Linked DNA regions of Homo sapiens: all the other regions are linked to region 3. The links are contacts of gene promoters, found by promoter capture Hi-C in human tissues and cell types (Jung and others, 2019). All regions are on one chromosome and are shown on one strand. Each heading gives the region's core, a stretch centred on a gene start or on the middle of the fragment in contact. The rest is flanking DNA. Distances are from core to core; before and after follow the strand shown.

Region 1 (4,481 bases), core at 1,516-4,015, 350 kb after region 3:
ACTTCACATCAAGCCTCAGTAACTGCTCCAGGTTGCCTCAGCCTCCCAGAAAGGGAGGAATCATCTTGGGAACTTACAACTTCGACCCAGTCACAATCAATCTGCCCTCCTCTCTGCCACCTGATACCTCAGGATGGCAGACGGAACAAGAAGAATTAACAAGGCCGGGATTGCTGAGGTTTTAAAAGACCAAACAACAGTGACACCCACCCCCTCTGAACCACACTCAAACAAAAGCACCTCTTTAGGCCCCCAGCCCTTCCTCCTAAGCTAAAGGCAGCAGCAGGGAGTTACCTCCATCTTCCAACTGTCTCTTTTGGCCCCCAAAACCAAAATCAGGAGTGCTGTTATTCACTGTCGTGGCAGCATCGCCTCCAATTTTGGCTGCAATCTAGAATAAAGTAGTAAGCACAGAAGAATTACCACCAAAAACAACCCTCCATGGCACCCAGGTCAACTTCTCAGAACATCTCCTGGACACGAAAGCCCATCAGGTCTTGGTGTCTGGCCCTCCAACTTAGGGAAGAGTCAGTTGGTTAAGACATCCTAGGAGTTTTGAACCTAGGCCTCAAGGTTCTCACCAGTTAACTGGGAATATCAAAATTCCCCTCTTCCCTTCTCCTGGGATTTGTGTCTTAATTGTGGCCAGCCCATAATCCACACTGACTTCGTTCTAGGGGTGACAAGGAACAGAGGCTCAGGTGTCAGGGAGGGTTCCCAGGTCATCTCCAAGAGCTTTCAGACACTTCCTCCTGCCAGTGGCCCCAGCTCAGAAAACCAGAAAGTGTGTTTTTTTTTAGCCCCGTTTTCCTGGGATGCTGAAGAGTTCAATTTTCCCCTATCTCCCCCACTCTCAAAATCCTTTTATCAATTTATTGAATAAATTTGAGCAAAGCGATCACTTCAAGGGATATGAAATCCTCATTTGACCAAAACAGAAGACTCTCTGGATGGCTGGGCACTGTGACTTATGCCTGTAATCCCAGCATTTTGGGAGGCCGAGGCGGGCAGATCACTTGAACTCAGGAGTTCGAGACAGACTGGCTGACATGGTCAAACTCCATCTCTACTAAAAATACAAAAATTAGCTGGGTGTGGTGGTGCACACTTATAATCCCAGCTACTCGGGAGGCTGAGGCAGGAGGAGCACTTCAACTGGAGAGGTGGAGGCTGTGGTGTGCTGAGATCGTGCCACTGCACCCCTGCCTGGGTGATATTGAGACTGTTTCCAAAAAACAAACAAACAAACAAAAAACCAAGACTCTATGGGACACAAGTTACATCTCAGACACGTGAAGAGCAACTTTAAAGAAACCTCAACCCAGCAAACTTAGGATCAGAGTCTGGGGTTTAGAAACCCAAACCATGTTAAGAATCTCCCTTTCCACCAGTCTCCATTTTTCTACGCTGCCCTAGAGCCAAAACTCATGGGATGCCCACAGGGGGCCTGTCCCCACCAACTGACAGCACCAGCTTCCTCCCTTCAAGCTGTCCCAGAATCAGACGGTTCCATGGGCAATAAGACCAAATGCACGCTAGAACCCACCCAACTCCAAGGGTGAGAGAGACGACAGAGGGCCAGAACACAGGCGTTCACTTAACGGGACCTCCCACCTTGGGAGGAGCCAGTCTCTAGCCCCGGAGGCATTGGGACAGCCCAGGAGCCGGTCGGCGGCAAAGTCCTCCCATTCTACCGACCCCCACCCCTCCAGGCCATGGGGAGGCTGCAAATGGAGCTGGAGAGGTCAGTCCTAGCAGCATGTGACACTTCCTTGTCATTACGCCTCAATACACGGGGGTGGGAGACCCTCCCTTCTTTCCCCCAAAGAGACAGACCACGCTTTCAAGCCACCAAAGCATCCAAGAGCCAGTCCCCATGCTCGTCTTCCCCATTTCGCCCAAGTGCTCAGCCCTAGACAGGTCCCCATCCACTTTCCCGACTGAAGAGGAAGGACTGTCCCTCCCACCCCCACAATGTCCCTTTCTCCTAGAGAGGGGACAGAAATGGGACTGGGTTGGGGGCAAACACTGCCCTTTGCCCTGATATGGAGGGGAGAGTAAAGGCCCTCCGCCCGGGAAGGTGGACCCCTGCCTCCAGGCATGTCCTAAGGCCGGGGGGCTAAGGGGGGGGTCCCAAAAGTGCGTCTCCGAGCTCCGGGGCGCCTGCACACCCAGGCGCCGCTCCTGGTGACCCCCAGTGCGCCCCTACTCCCTGCAGGGGGGTCACCCGTTGGGATCCCACTCGAGGCGCAGCGGGAGGGCCAGGCCCCCGCCTACCGCCCACGTGACCCCGCGACGGCCCCGGCCCCCCTCCGCGACCCTGCGCGCGCGCGCGCACGTGACCCCCGCCCCCTCCCCCGCCTGCGCGCGCGCGCGAGCGCGCCCCTCAGGCCCTCGGCCTCCTCACCTGGCGGGCCCGCTGCACGGCGTCGGCGAAAGCGTCCTTGCGGATTCCCGGGCCGCCTCCGCCGGGTGGCTGAGAGGGGCCCCCGGCCGACCCCCCGCCCGGGCCGCCGCCGCCGGGACCGCCGCCGCCCCGGTCCCCCGCGCCTGGCGGGCCCGGCGGAGGGCCTCCCCCGGCGCCTCCGGCTCCCCCGCCCCCGCCGGCGGGCGGCGGCGGCCCGGGCGGGGGTCCTCCCGTGCTGTAGTCCGACATGGCGCGGCGGGGCCGGGCCTGGCGCGGAGGCTGAAGCTGAGGAGGCGGCGGCGGCGGCGGCGGCTCAACGCGGGAACAAGGCCTCGCTCCACACGGCCGCGGAGCACTCTGGGAACCCAGCCGCTGGGAGGACGACGAGGGGGGAGAGAGTCGCCCCTCCCGCCGCCGACGTGACGGACGACTCCGGCGGGCCAATGGGAGGCAGCCGCCGCACCCCGGACACCAATCGCGAGCTCTGTAGGAGGTGGCCAATCGGAGTGCAATGAGGGGCAGTGGGCGGGAGGCTCAGAGTGACTGACAGCTCTCAGAGGCAATAGCTGCGAGCTGCCCGTGCTGGGCGGGCAAATGAAGGAGATCTGAGAAGGCAGGAGGCCCAATGAAACGCGAGTGCCAGATTCGCGGGGCGGCTTCAGAATTAGATTGACGGTTCTGAAGAGTCACGTGGACTGTAAGGCCGGGCCTAGTGGAAGACTCCTATGGACCGGCTGGGTGGGCGTTAGGTTTGATAGTCGTGGACACAAGCCAATGAATGCACGTGAGAGGTGGTGCTTGTAAAGATGGGCAGCCAATTAATCCAATTCCTGACGAGTTCTGGGTGATGAGGTTGGCTTTGGACTTTAATTGCTTCCCTTGTTAACCAGAATCCTTTTCTATCCCTGACTTCTAAGCCAATGGCTGAGCGACATGGGTGGGTGTTCGGTGACTGACACTGGTCTGGACAAATGGGAATGAAGGAAATCAAAGCGCCCACTTTTGGTGGGAGCCAGTGGAAGCGCCGCTGCATTGGGGCGGAGTCGGCCACCAGACAGCGAGGGGATTAGCGGGAACTGTAGTGAATGGCAGCCGACGTGGGCGGTGGCAATCGGCTGCCCGAACTCAGGCCTGATGTCTGGGTTAGCTCACCGGCAGCCTGGTTGGGTAGGCCCGGCACGTGGCCCGCTTGAAGCCTTAGAGATCGAGCGCTTCCGGAGGTGGGGAGGCCGGAAAGCAGGAAACTCGGGATCCCCCGGGCCTTCTTCTCTCTCGACCCCCCATCTAGAGCGTCCAGTTCTCTTGCAGGACTCAAGGAACCAGCCCCACTCACGAGTCCAGAACCGTTCCAACAACCGGGATCGAGGGATCACAGCCTCGATCACACCCCTCACTTCACACCCCTCACTCCCTTCGCCTAAGGCCCTGGGATCCAAGCCTCAAGCTCCTATCCTAGGTCCTCACTTCCTCTCCTGGACACAAATTCCCATTCAGGACCCAGAGGCCCAAGGTCCCCAGCTCCCCTACTGGGTCCAGGGATCTCATGCACCCAGTTCCACTCCTAGGCCCAAGTATCCAGACACGTTCAGCAAAAACCATCTCTTTATTCCTTGTTGTGTGACATGTTCACCATTTCGCCCTGGAGCCAGGACGACCCACAAGGGGCCAGACTGGAGTCCACGTTTCTTGTCTCAGGCTGCACCCTGGGGAGGGAGTCCCAGGAGTTTTCTGACCCAGCACTGCCCCCCTCCACCCACCACCAACCCCAGCTTCAGGAATCTTCTGACCCAGAGCCCCACCCCCACCCCCAGCCTGCTTTTGCCACCAAAAACTGCCCCAGGGCCTGAACCTTGAGGCCTCGAGGGCTCTTTGGGGCCAGGGGTCATCAGGTCCTCCTGTCCCATTTCTGCCTAGGCTGTGTCGTCCAGCTCACAGCCTATATGCCCAGGGTTTTCTTCATGGCTTCGTACACCACATAGCTGATGCCACCTGCTGGTAAGACCTTCAGTAGCGTGGGGGTCATGCCTCGGTACAGCCCTAGCCAGCCCTGCTGGGCCAGGATCCGCTGGAGGAC
Region 2 (4,865 bases), core at 477-2,976, 260 kb after region 3:
ACCCAGTATGGGCATGGCATAGCTGCACTGATCTTTGGCTTTAAGCTTTGGCTAAATGCCGTGATCATTTGTGCATTCCTATTTTTTTTTTTTTTTTTGAGACGAAGTCTCGCTCTTGTCCCTCAGGCTGGAGTGCAATGGTGCGATCTCGGCTCATTGAAACCTCCGCCTCCTGGGTTCAAGCCATTCTCTTGCCTCAGCCTCCCAAGCAGCTGGGATTACAGGTGCCTGCCACCAAACCTGGCTAATTTTTGTATTTTTAGTAGAGATGGGGTTTCACCATGTTGGCCAGGCTGGTCTCGAACTCCTGACCTCAGGTGATCCACTCACCTTGGCCTCGCAAAGTGCTGTGATTACAGGCGTGAGCCTCCGCGCCCGGCCTTTTTTTTTTTTTTTTTTTTTTGAGACAGGGTCTCCCTCTGTCACCCAGGCTGGAGTGCAGTGGTATGACCTCAGCTCACTGCATCCTCCACTTCTTGGGTTCAAGAAATCCTCCCCCCTCAGCCTCCCAAGTAGCTGGAACTACAAGCACACACCACCACACCCAGCTAATTTTTAAAAACTTTTTGTAGAGACAGGGTCTTGCTATGTTGCCCAGGCTGGTCTGGAACTCCTGGGCTCAAGCGATCTTCCTGCCTCTGCGTTCCAAATTGCTGGGGTTACAGGCATGAGCCATGGTGCTAGGTACATCCATGATTTTTTAGCACTTCCCATGTGGTGTTTTAACAGGGAAAGAGAAGACCACCTCAGAATGTCCAGAACTGAGGAGTTTCTCAGGAGGTGGGACTTTTTTTCTTCTTTTTTTGAGACAGTCTCGCTTTTTCACCCAGGCTGGAGTGCAGTGGCACAATCTCAGCTCACTGCAACCTCCGCCTCCTGGGTTCAAGCGATTCTCATGCCGTAGCCTCCTGAGTAGCTTGGACTACAGATGCCTGACACCGTACCCAGCTAATTTTTTATTTTAGTAGAGATGGGCTTTCACCACGTTGCCCAGGGCGATCTCCAACTCCTGAGCTCAGGCAATCCACCCACCTTGGCCTTCCAAAGTGCTAGGATTACAGACGTGAGCCACCGCGCCCAGCCAAGAGGTGAAACTTTTTAAATACTGAAACCAGGATAGTCCCAGGCACACTGGGACAAGTTGGTCAGTGGGTACAGCTGCAAACAAGACAGACACAATCACCTCTTCCAGGAAGCCTTTCCTGATTGGCCCACCCCCTCTAGCTCAGGGGCACCCTCTGCCTCCCCCTACCACAGCTGCCTCTGTGCCCTCCAAGAAGGCACCATCGCTCCCGGTTGCAAATGCCTGCAGTCACATCAGAGTTAGCTTAGGGAAGGCAGAGACCGGTTCTTTTCCTGGCCACCAATGTGTCTCCAAAACCTACCACAGAGCTTGGCATCAAGTAAAGACAAGTAAATGAATGAAAGCTGGCACTCTTTGGCTAACAGATGAGAAAACTAGGGCTGAGACAGGTGAACCACTCCAGCAAGATTCCCCAGTAAGGCTGTATGGGGAGGAACCGGGATTCGAACCGGCATCTGGCGAGACTCCTTCACACACCCACGCACTCACCGTGTTGTAGAACTCGGCCACCAGCTCCGAGTACTGGAAGTTGCTCTCACACCAGTCCACCTCGGAGCTCTGATAGGCGAAGATGCTAGGCATCTTGTCTCAGTGGCCACCACCAGCCGGCTGCGCCCGGCAGAGAGAAGGCGAGCTTGGGAAGGCTGGGCCCTGATGAGGCGGGGAGAGGACAGCCCGGTGCCCCGCGGCAGGCAGACTGGGAGGAAAAACCTGCTGGGCCGCTCCCCAGTTGCACCAGGGCAGCCTGGCTGTGCAGTGACAGCAGCCCTGAGCATAAGCCGTGGGACTGGCACTGTCCAGGCAGGGCAGGGGGCAGAAGTAGGCAGGGAAGAGGCCTCCCATCCAGATTACCCAGGAATAGGAATCGGGGTGGGGGCAGTGGAGGGAACTGTTTTTATCTTTTATGTATGTATGTATTTATTTATTAGAGTCAGGGCCTTGCTCTGTTGCTCAGGCTGGGGTACAGTGGCATCATCATAGCTCACCGCAGCCTCAAACTCCCAGGCTCAAGCAATACTCCTGCCTCAGCCTCTGAAGTAGCCAGGACCACAGGCACATGCTGCCACCATGCCTAGCTAATTGTTTTTTTTTTTGGAGACAGAGTCGCTCTGTTGCCCAGGCTGGAGTGCAGTGGCATGATCTCAGCTCACTGCAAGCTCTGCCTCCCGTGTTCACGCCATTCTCCCGCCTCAGCCTCCCGAGTAGCTGGGACTACAGGCGCCCACCGCCACGACCGGCTAATTTTTTGTATTTTTAATAGAGATGGAGTTTCACTGTGTTAGCCAGGATGGTCTCGATCTCCTGACCTCGTGATCCACCTGCCTTGGCCTCCCAAAGTGCTGGGATTATAGGTGTGCGTGAGCCACCGTGCCCGGCCTTTTTTTTTAAAATTGAGATGCAGTCTGGCTCTGTCACCCAGGCTGGAGTGTAGTGGCGCAATGTCAGCTCACTGCAACCTCCACCTCCTGGGTTCAAGCGATTCTCCTACCTCAGCCTCCCAAGTAGCTGGGATGACTGGCACCTGCCACCATGCCCAGCTAATTTTTTTTGTATTTTAGTAGAGATAGGATTTCACCATGTTGGTCAAGCTGGTCTCGAACTCCTGACCTCAGGTGATCTGCCCACCTTGGCCTCCCAAGGTGCCGGGATTATACGCATGAGCCACCTCACCTGGCCTGAGTTCCTCTACTTTAAGCTGTGTGACCTTGGGCAAGTGAATTTACCTCTCTGATCCTCTGTTTGCTCACCTGTCATATGGAGACGATGGTGACAGAGCCAACTGTAACAAAGGAAGACAGAGATAAAGCATGTACAAAGGCTTAGCCCACTGCCTATGCTAGAGTAGGCACTTGATGGATGGTAATGGGTTTTCTTTTTTTTTTTGAGATGGAGTCTTGCTCTGTCCCAAAGTGCTGGGATTACAGGGTTTTCTTACTGAAGCTGACCTTGAACTTTAAGTCAACTTTGTGGGAATAATAATAATTATTATTATTATAATAAAAGAGCCTGGCCTTAGCAAGCGGTTAGCAAGTGTGCATAACAATAATAATATAATTATTTATTATATAATAGCAATATTATATTAAAATATAAAATTATTATATTAAAAATACTATTGTTATATAATATTTTAAATATTTTAGTATATTATTTTAATGTGATTAATATAATTTAATATAATAATTAATATTATATATTATATAATTTTTCTTTTTTTAAGTGCTTGATTTTCAGTATTATCTCATTTAACGTTCTTTTTTTTTTTTTTTTTTGAGATGGAGCCTCACTCTGTCTCCCAGGCTGGAGTGCAGTGGCATGATCTTGGCTCACTGCAACCTCCACCTCCCTAGTTCAAGCAATTCTCCTGCCTCAGCCTCCTGAGTAACTGGGACTACAGGCACCTGCCACCATGCCCAGCTAATTTTTGTATTTTTAGTAGAGACGGGGTTTCACCATATTGACCAGGCTGGCCTCAAACTCCTGACCTTGTGATCTGCCCGTCTCGACTTCCCAAAGTGCTGGGATTACAGGCGTGAGCCACTGTGCCCGGCCTTCATTTAATGTTCTTAACAATCCTACCCCGGGTGCTGTGGCTCACGCCTGTAATCCTAGTGCTTTGGGAGACCAAGGCGGGAGGATCACAAGGTCAGGAGATTGAGACCATCCTGGCTAACACAGTGAAACCCCATTTCTACTAAAAATACAAAAAAGGTAGCTGGGCGTGATGGTGGGTGCCCATAGTCCCAGCTACTCAGGAGGCTGAGGCAGGAGAATGGCATGAACCCAGGAGACGGAGCTTGCAGCGAGCCAAAATTGCACCACTGCACTCCAGCCTGGGTGACAGAGAAAGACTCTGTCTAAAAAAAAAAGAAAAAATCCTAAGCGCCAGGAACTATTGTTATCCCTTTTCTTTTTCTTTTTTTTCTTTTTCTTTTCTTTTTTTTTTTGAAATAGAGTTTCACTCTTGTCACCCAGGCTGGAGTGCAATGGCATGATCTCAGCTCACTGCAACCTCTGCCTCCCAGGTTCCAGCGATTCCCCTGCCTCAGCCTCCCAAGTAGCTGGATTTACAGGCACCCGCCAGCATGCCCGGCTAATTTTTGTATTTTTAGTAGAGACGGGGTTTCACCATGTTGGCCAGGCTAGTCTCGAACTCGTGACTTCTGGTGATCCACCTGTCTCGGCTTCCCAAAGTGCTGGGATTACAGGCTTGAGCCACTGTGCCTGGCCTCTTTTTCTCTTTTGAGACAGGGTCTTGCTCTGTTGCCCAAGCTGGAGTGCAGTGGCGCAATCATAGTTCAATGCAGCCTTGCTTGATCTCCTGAGCTCATGCGATCCTATCTCCTGCTAGTAATCACTAGCAAGGAAACTAAAGCCCAGAGAAGTTAAGGAACTTACCATAGGTCACACAGTTAGGAAGTGATAGAGACAGGCAAGGAACACCACCTCTATGATGCCTCAGTTTCCTCACCTGTAAGGTGGTGAAAATGATAATGGTACTGCCCTCTCAAGCCTGTTGTGAAGAGTTAGTGAGCTGACACGATGTTTCCATAAAAAGATAAATTGTGGGCTGGGCACGGTGGCTCATGCCTGTAATCCCAGCACTTTAGGAAGCCAAGGCAGGCGGATCACGAGGTCAGGAGATCAAGACCATCCTGGTTAACATGGTGAAACCCCGTCTCTACTAAAAATATAAAAACCTAGCCAGGCATGGTGGCGGGCGCCTGTAGTCCCAGCTACTTGGGAGGCTGAGGCAGGAAAATCGCTTGAACCTGGGAGG
Region 3 (4,627 bases), core at 1,273-3,772:
AGCCGGGGTTTTGTAGCAGGGGTGGGGGTGCGGTACAGGAACAGATCTGGAGCTTGTGGCAGGAGTTCAGGTGGAACATCAGGCGGGGTACAGATGCCACAGTGTGGAGGAAGCTCCTCCTCTCATCCCAAGCTAGCCCCTTCCTAACCTCAAGTCAACGAGAAGAGAAGGTGGGCTAGAACCTTTCCACCTTCCTCTTAGCACCCGGCCTGTGCCGGTGCATCTCCTCACCCCACACAGTGCCCTGGGTACAGGGGCTGGGGCTTGAAGGGTGCCCATAACACACTCCCTCAGAGCCTGGACACTCAGCCATCGTTCATTCATTCAACAAACACAGTCTGAGCATCTGCCATGTGCCGGCTTCAAGTGCTGAGGACACAGCAGGGAATGAAACAGATTGAGTCCCTGACCATGTGGGGCTGACCCCTCAGGGAGAGACAGACGACACCATGGACACAGAACAGCAGGAGGTGACAAATGCTCTGAAGAAAAATACACTCAAATGCACAAGTGGAGTGCGGCATGGGCCAGGGGCAACAAGGTGACCTGGGGCAGTGACAGGACAGAGGCAGAGTGAGGTGAGGAAAGTGTCGCCGCTGAGAAGGCTCTGCCAGGGATGGTGCTCGGCAAGGCTGAGGCACACGGGACATGTGGGGTCACACGGGTCACGTGAGGAGGCCACCAGAGGGAGCTGGGGGAATGCTGGGGGTTGAATGTTGTGTCCCCTTAAATTCCTATGCTGAACTCCTCACCCCAAGGCAGTAGCTTTAGGAGGTGGGGCCTTTGGGAGGTGATTAGGTCATGAGGGTGGGATCATGCCCTCCCTTATGGAAGGGACCCCAGAGAGCTCTCTCTGGCTTCCCACCATGTGATGTGAGGACACAGCAAGAAGACAGCCATCTGCATCCCAGAGGGAAGCCCTCACCAGAACCTGACCCTGCTGGCACCCTCTTCTCAGACTTCCCACCTCCAGGGCTGAGAGATGTGTGTCTGTTGTTTACAGCCACCCAGTCTATGGCCTTTTGCTGAAACAGCCCAAACAGATTAAGACAGGAGGAGAAGGAGGAAGAGGAGAAAGAAGAGGAGGAGAAGGTGGAGGAGGAGGAGGAGGAGGAGGAGAAGATGGACTTAGAGACACAAGGAGGCCACAGTGGAGTGTTTGGCTTTCGCTCTGAGTGTGCTGGGAAGCTACTGGAAGGTTTAGGGCACAGGGACACAATCTGACAGATATTTTGGAAGTATCAACGGTCAATGGAAGCAAACGTCAGGGCTGGACAACCAGGTCAGAGGTGACAAAGACTTACGTGATAGCAGTGCTCTCATTTGGGAGACACCTGAAGACAGAGCCAGCCAGGTTTGCTGACGGGTTTGACATAAAGGGTGAAAGAAAGAGAGGAGTCGAGGCTGACTTAAGGCTTGGGGCTGGCCTGAGCACCTAGAGAATGGAGCTGCCCGGTGCTGAGCTGGGGAAGCCCGTGGTCTGGGGAGAGACAAGTGTGAGGTCGAATCAGGCACCCAGTTTTGGGTGACAGAAGCCTCAGATGCCCATCAGATGACACCCACATGCAGCTGCCACCTAGGCAGCTAGGTACACAAGTCCAGGATTCGGGGAGTGAGCCAGGCTGCAGACACTAGGACACTGGAGGTTCTAAGATGCATTTCAACTCTTGTACCTCGGTGAGATCACCAGGAAAGCAGGTGTAGATAAAGCAGAAAAGAGGTCCCTTCTCAAGTTCAAAGGTCATGAACAGTTGGAGGATCTGGCATAGGGGACAGAGGAGAGGAAGAAAGCAGAGGGAATATCGAGCTCTGAAATACACAGCGTCACCCCTTTACTTGGCTTTCGGAGCTTGGTGTTCACAAAAAATTAGAAACGAGGTTGGGGGCGGTGGCTCATGCCTGTAATCCCAGCACATTTTGGGAGGCCAAGGTGGGCAGATCACTTGAGGTCATGAGTTCGAGAGCAGCCTGGCCAACATGGCGAAACCCCATCTCTACTAAAAAATAATACAAAAATTAGCCATGCGTGGTGGTGCATGCCTGTAATCCCAGCTACTTGGGAGGCTGAGGCAGGAGAATCGCCTGAACCCGGGAGGCTGAGGTTGCAGTGAGCCGAGATGGTGCCACTGTACTCCAGCCTGGGTGACAGAGAGAGACTCTGTCTCAAAATAAATAAATACATAAATAAGAAACAAACGTTCATCAACTGGAATACCATTAACTACCTTACGGTGCATCCTAGCTCTAAAACAGGAGGCTAGGCGAGGGTGCCTGGGTCCGGTGCCTGGGTCCAGTTCCTGGGTCCTCCAGTTTCTAGCTGGGTGACCTCAGCCAGGGACTTAAATCTTTCTGCACTTCCATTTCTTTGTCCATAAACGGAGAAAATACTTCTATCTGTGTTGGGTGGTTGTGTTAAATGAGAGGAGTCCTACAAAGTGTGGAGTTTAATGGCCAGCCCAGCACACGGAAAATGCCCATAAATGTTCATTAGCGTCATCGTTGTAATTCACACCATTATAACGTAACCCACATAATTTACTGATTTTTTGCAGATTTAAATATCTGAAACTAAAAGCAGTTATGCTGTTTGCTATTTGTGATTTCAAAAACTCTTCGCTATTTGTGATGTTGCTAAGCCCTTTAGGGAGTGCCTCCTGCTATGAGCTATATTCATTCCAGGGCATATTTGTGGGGTTTGTCATTTTAACCAAGTACTTAATACTTGTTTCTCTCCCAGCATCTTGCCAAATGTGGCAGCTCTCCTTCTAGATGAACACTACTGCATTACTGTTATAGAAATGATATTTTAACATCAACTCCCTTTTCCCTTTTCTTCCCTAGAAATCCAGTCCTTCCATGAGACCTCGGTACACACAGAACTCCTCCTACCACGTGCAACCTTATTCTCGGCTGAGCAACTCATAAATCGCATAACAAAAACAGTGATTGATGCGGACTGTGTTTAGTGCCATCCTTGCCGGTGAGAGGGAGTGAGCCAGCAAGCTTCCTTAAATCTCTTTAGTTCTCCAAAAGGAGAGGCCATTTGCCTTCTCATCTATGCCGCAAGTTTCTGGGGCTTGCATCATTAACCTGGTGGCTTTGCCAATTCCTTCGCCAGTGCTGGGTCAAAGACAGGCAAGGGCACCAGGGTTAGCCATGAGTGTGTGCCAGGGGCTGAATGCAAAACCCGGGAGCACTGGTGGCTGGGGCAGGTGGGCTGGGCTCTGCCACTGCCTCCCCCAGCCCACCCAAGAGGGGCGTGTGCCTCTGCAGGAAATGGCCTCCAAGCATTTCTCAAGACTTACGAGATGTTCAAACCTACACAGTCAGAGACAAAGAGCTAGCTATAAGTGGGGTCTTTTTCCCCTCCTCAAAATTCATCCTGCAGAAGTAGACATGTGCTAAACAGTGCATGGCCACACAAATGCTTGGATACCAATGTTCACAGCAGCGTTGTCCTAATGGCCCCAAAGTAGCAACAGCCCAAATGTTTGTCAACTGATGGATGGATAAACGAAGGCGGCCGGGCGCGGTGGCTCACACCTGTAATCCCAGCACTTTGGGAGGCTGAGGCGGGTGGATCACCTGAGGTCAGGAGTTTGAGACCAGCCTGACCAACATGGAGAAACCCTGTCTCTATTAAAATACAAAATTAGCCGGGCGTGGTGGCACATGCCTGTAATCCCAGCTACTTGGGAGGCTGAGGCAGGAGAATCGCTTGAACCCGGGAGGCGGAGGTTGCAGTGAGCCAAGATCGCGCCATTGCACTCCAGCCTGGGCAACAAGAGCAAAATTCCATCTCAAAAAAAAAAAAAAAAAAAAGGAACGAGGCACTGGCACATGCTGTAAACGGATGGACAGTGGACCCTGAAAACATTATGTTACGTGGAAGAAGCCAGTCACAAAAGGCCACATAGTGTGTGATTCTGTTTATATGAAAGGTTCAAAACAGGCAAATCCACAGAGACAGAAAGTGGATTCACAGTTGCCCGGGGCTGGGAGGAGGAAGGGCAAGTGGCTGTTCATGGCAGGTTCAGGGTTTCTTCTTCTTTTCGGAGTGATGAAAATGTTCTGTGAAGATAGTATACTAAGACCCACTGAACCATACACTTCAAATGGGTGAGCTTTACGGTATGTAAAACAGATCTCAGCACAGCTGTAAAAAAAAAAAAAAAAAAGGTATATTGACGACCTGTCCCCAGTGGCATTAGTTTAAGTCATAAAAATTTAGAAACAAATGTTCATCAACAGGAAAATCATTAAGTACCTTATGGTGCATCCTAGCTCTAAAACTATGCTGCCATTAAAAAGAAGAGGTACCGTCTCCAAGAAAGAAAGCCAACATCTGCAGTGCCTGGCACACAGTAGGCTCTCAAATATTTGCAGAATAAATTTATGTTGAAAAAACCCCAGCTATACATACTATAAAATAGGTAAAGGGGCCTTAAAAAGATCTAGAAGGACACAAGTTATATGACTAACAGTGCTTACCTCATATGAGGTGGGATAGACAGAAAGACGAAAAGAGAAATTTTCATTTCTGAATCTCCTGCTGTAGATGGTGGTCCTTCCCAGGAGAATGTTACTTGTATTACTTGCATATCATTTTATTTTTTGAGATGGAATC

Evidence for each region. Contacts are between HindIII fragments. The study calls those that stand out against the background at their distance.
Region 1: the fragment with the promoter of KHSRP here is called in contact with a fragment that was not itself captured in region 3 in 5 of the 25 tissues and cell types used here (dorsolateral prefrontal cortex, heart left ventricle, lymphoblastoid cells and 2 more).
Region 2: the fragment with the promoter of ACER1 here is called in contact with a fragment that was not itself captured in region 3 in 4 of the 25 tissues and cell types used here (H1 embryonic stem cells, lymphoblastoid cells, mesendoderm cells and 1 more).

What each region holds. Positions count from the first base shown.
Region 1 is chr19:6,422,046-6,426,526 of GRCh38, forward strand. KHSRP (KH-type splicing regulatory protein) reads right to left here and starts at 2,766. Exons shown (of 19, transcript NM_001366299.1): 1 at 2,408-2,766; 2 at 295-391. The coding sequence starts at 2,656. SLC25A41 (solute carrier family 25 member 41) reads right to left here. Exons shown (of 7, transcript NM_173637.4): 7 at 3,992-4,481. The coding sequence ends at 4,344. RefSeq lists an enhancer at 3,074-3,193. The HindIII fragment of the contact is 26,210 bases long and covers 1-4,481 here.
Region 2 is chr19:6,331,886-6,336,750 of GRCh38, forward strand. ACER1 (alkaline ceramidase 1) reads right to left here and starts at 1,727. Exons shown (of 6, transcript NM_133492.3): 1 at 1,574-1,727. The coding sequence starts at 1,666. The HindIII fragment of the contact is 13,348 bases long and covers 1-4,865 here.
Region 3 is chr19:6,074,179-6,078,805 of GRCh38, forward strand. All of the region lies in intron 1 of RFX2 (regulatory factor X2), which reads right to left. RFX2-AS1 (RFX2 antisense RNA 1) reads left to right here. Exons shown (of 2, transcript NR_199041.1): 2 at 2,842-2,946. Among named protein-coding and RNA genes, the nearest start is that of RFX2-AS1, 14 kb to the left of the region's middle. RefSeq lists enhancers at 189-982, 202-371. The HindIII fragment of the contact is 7,886 bases long and covers 1-4,627 here.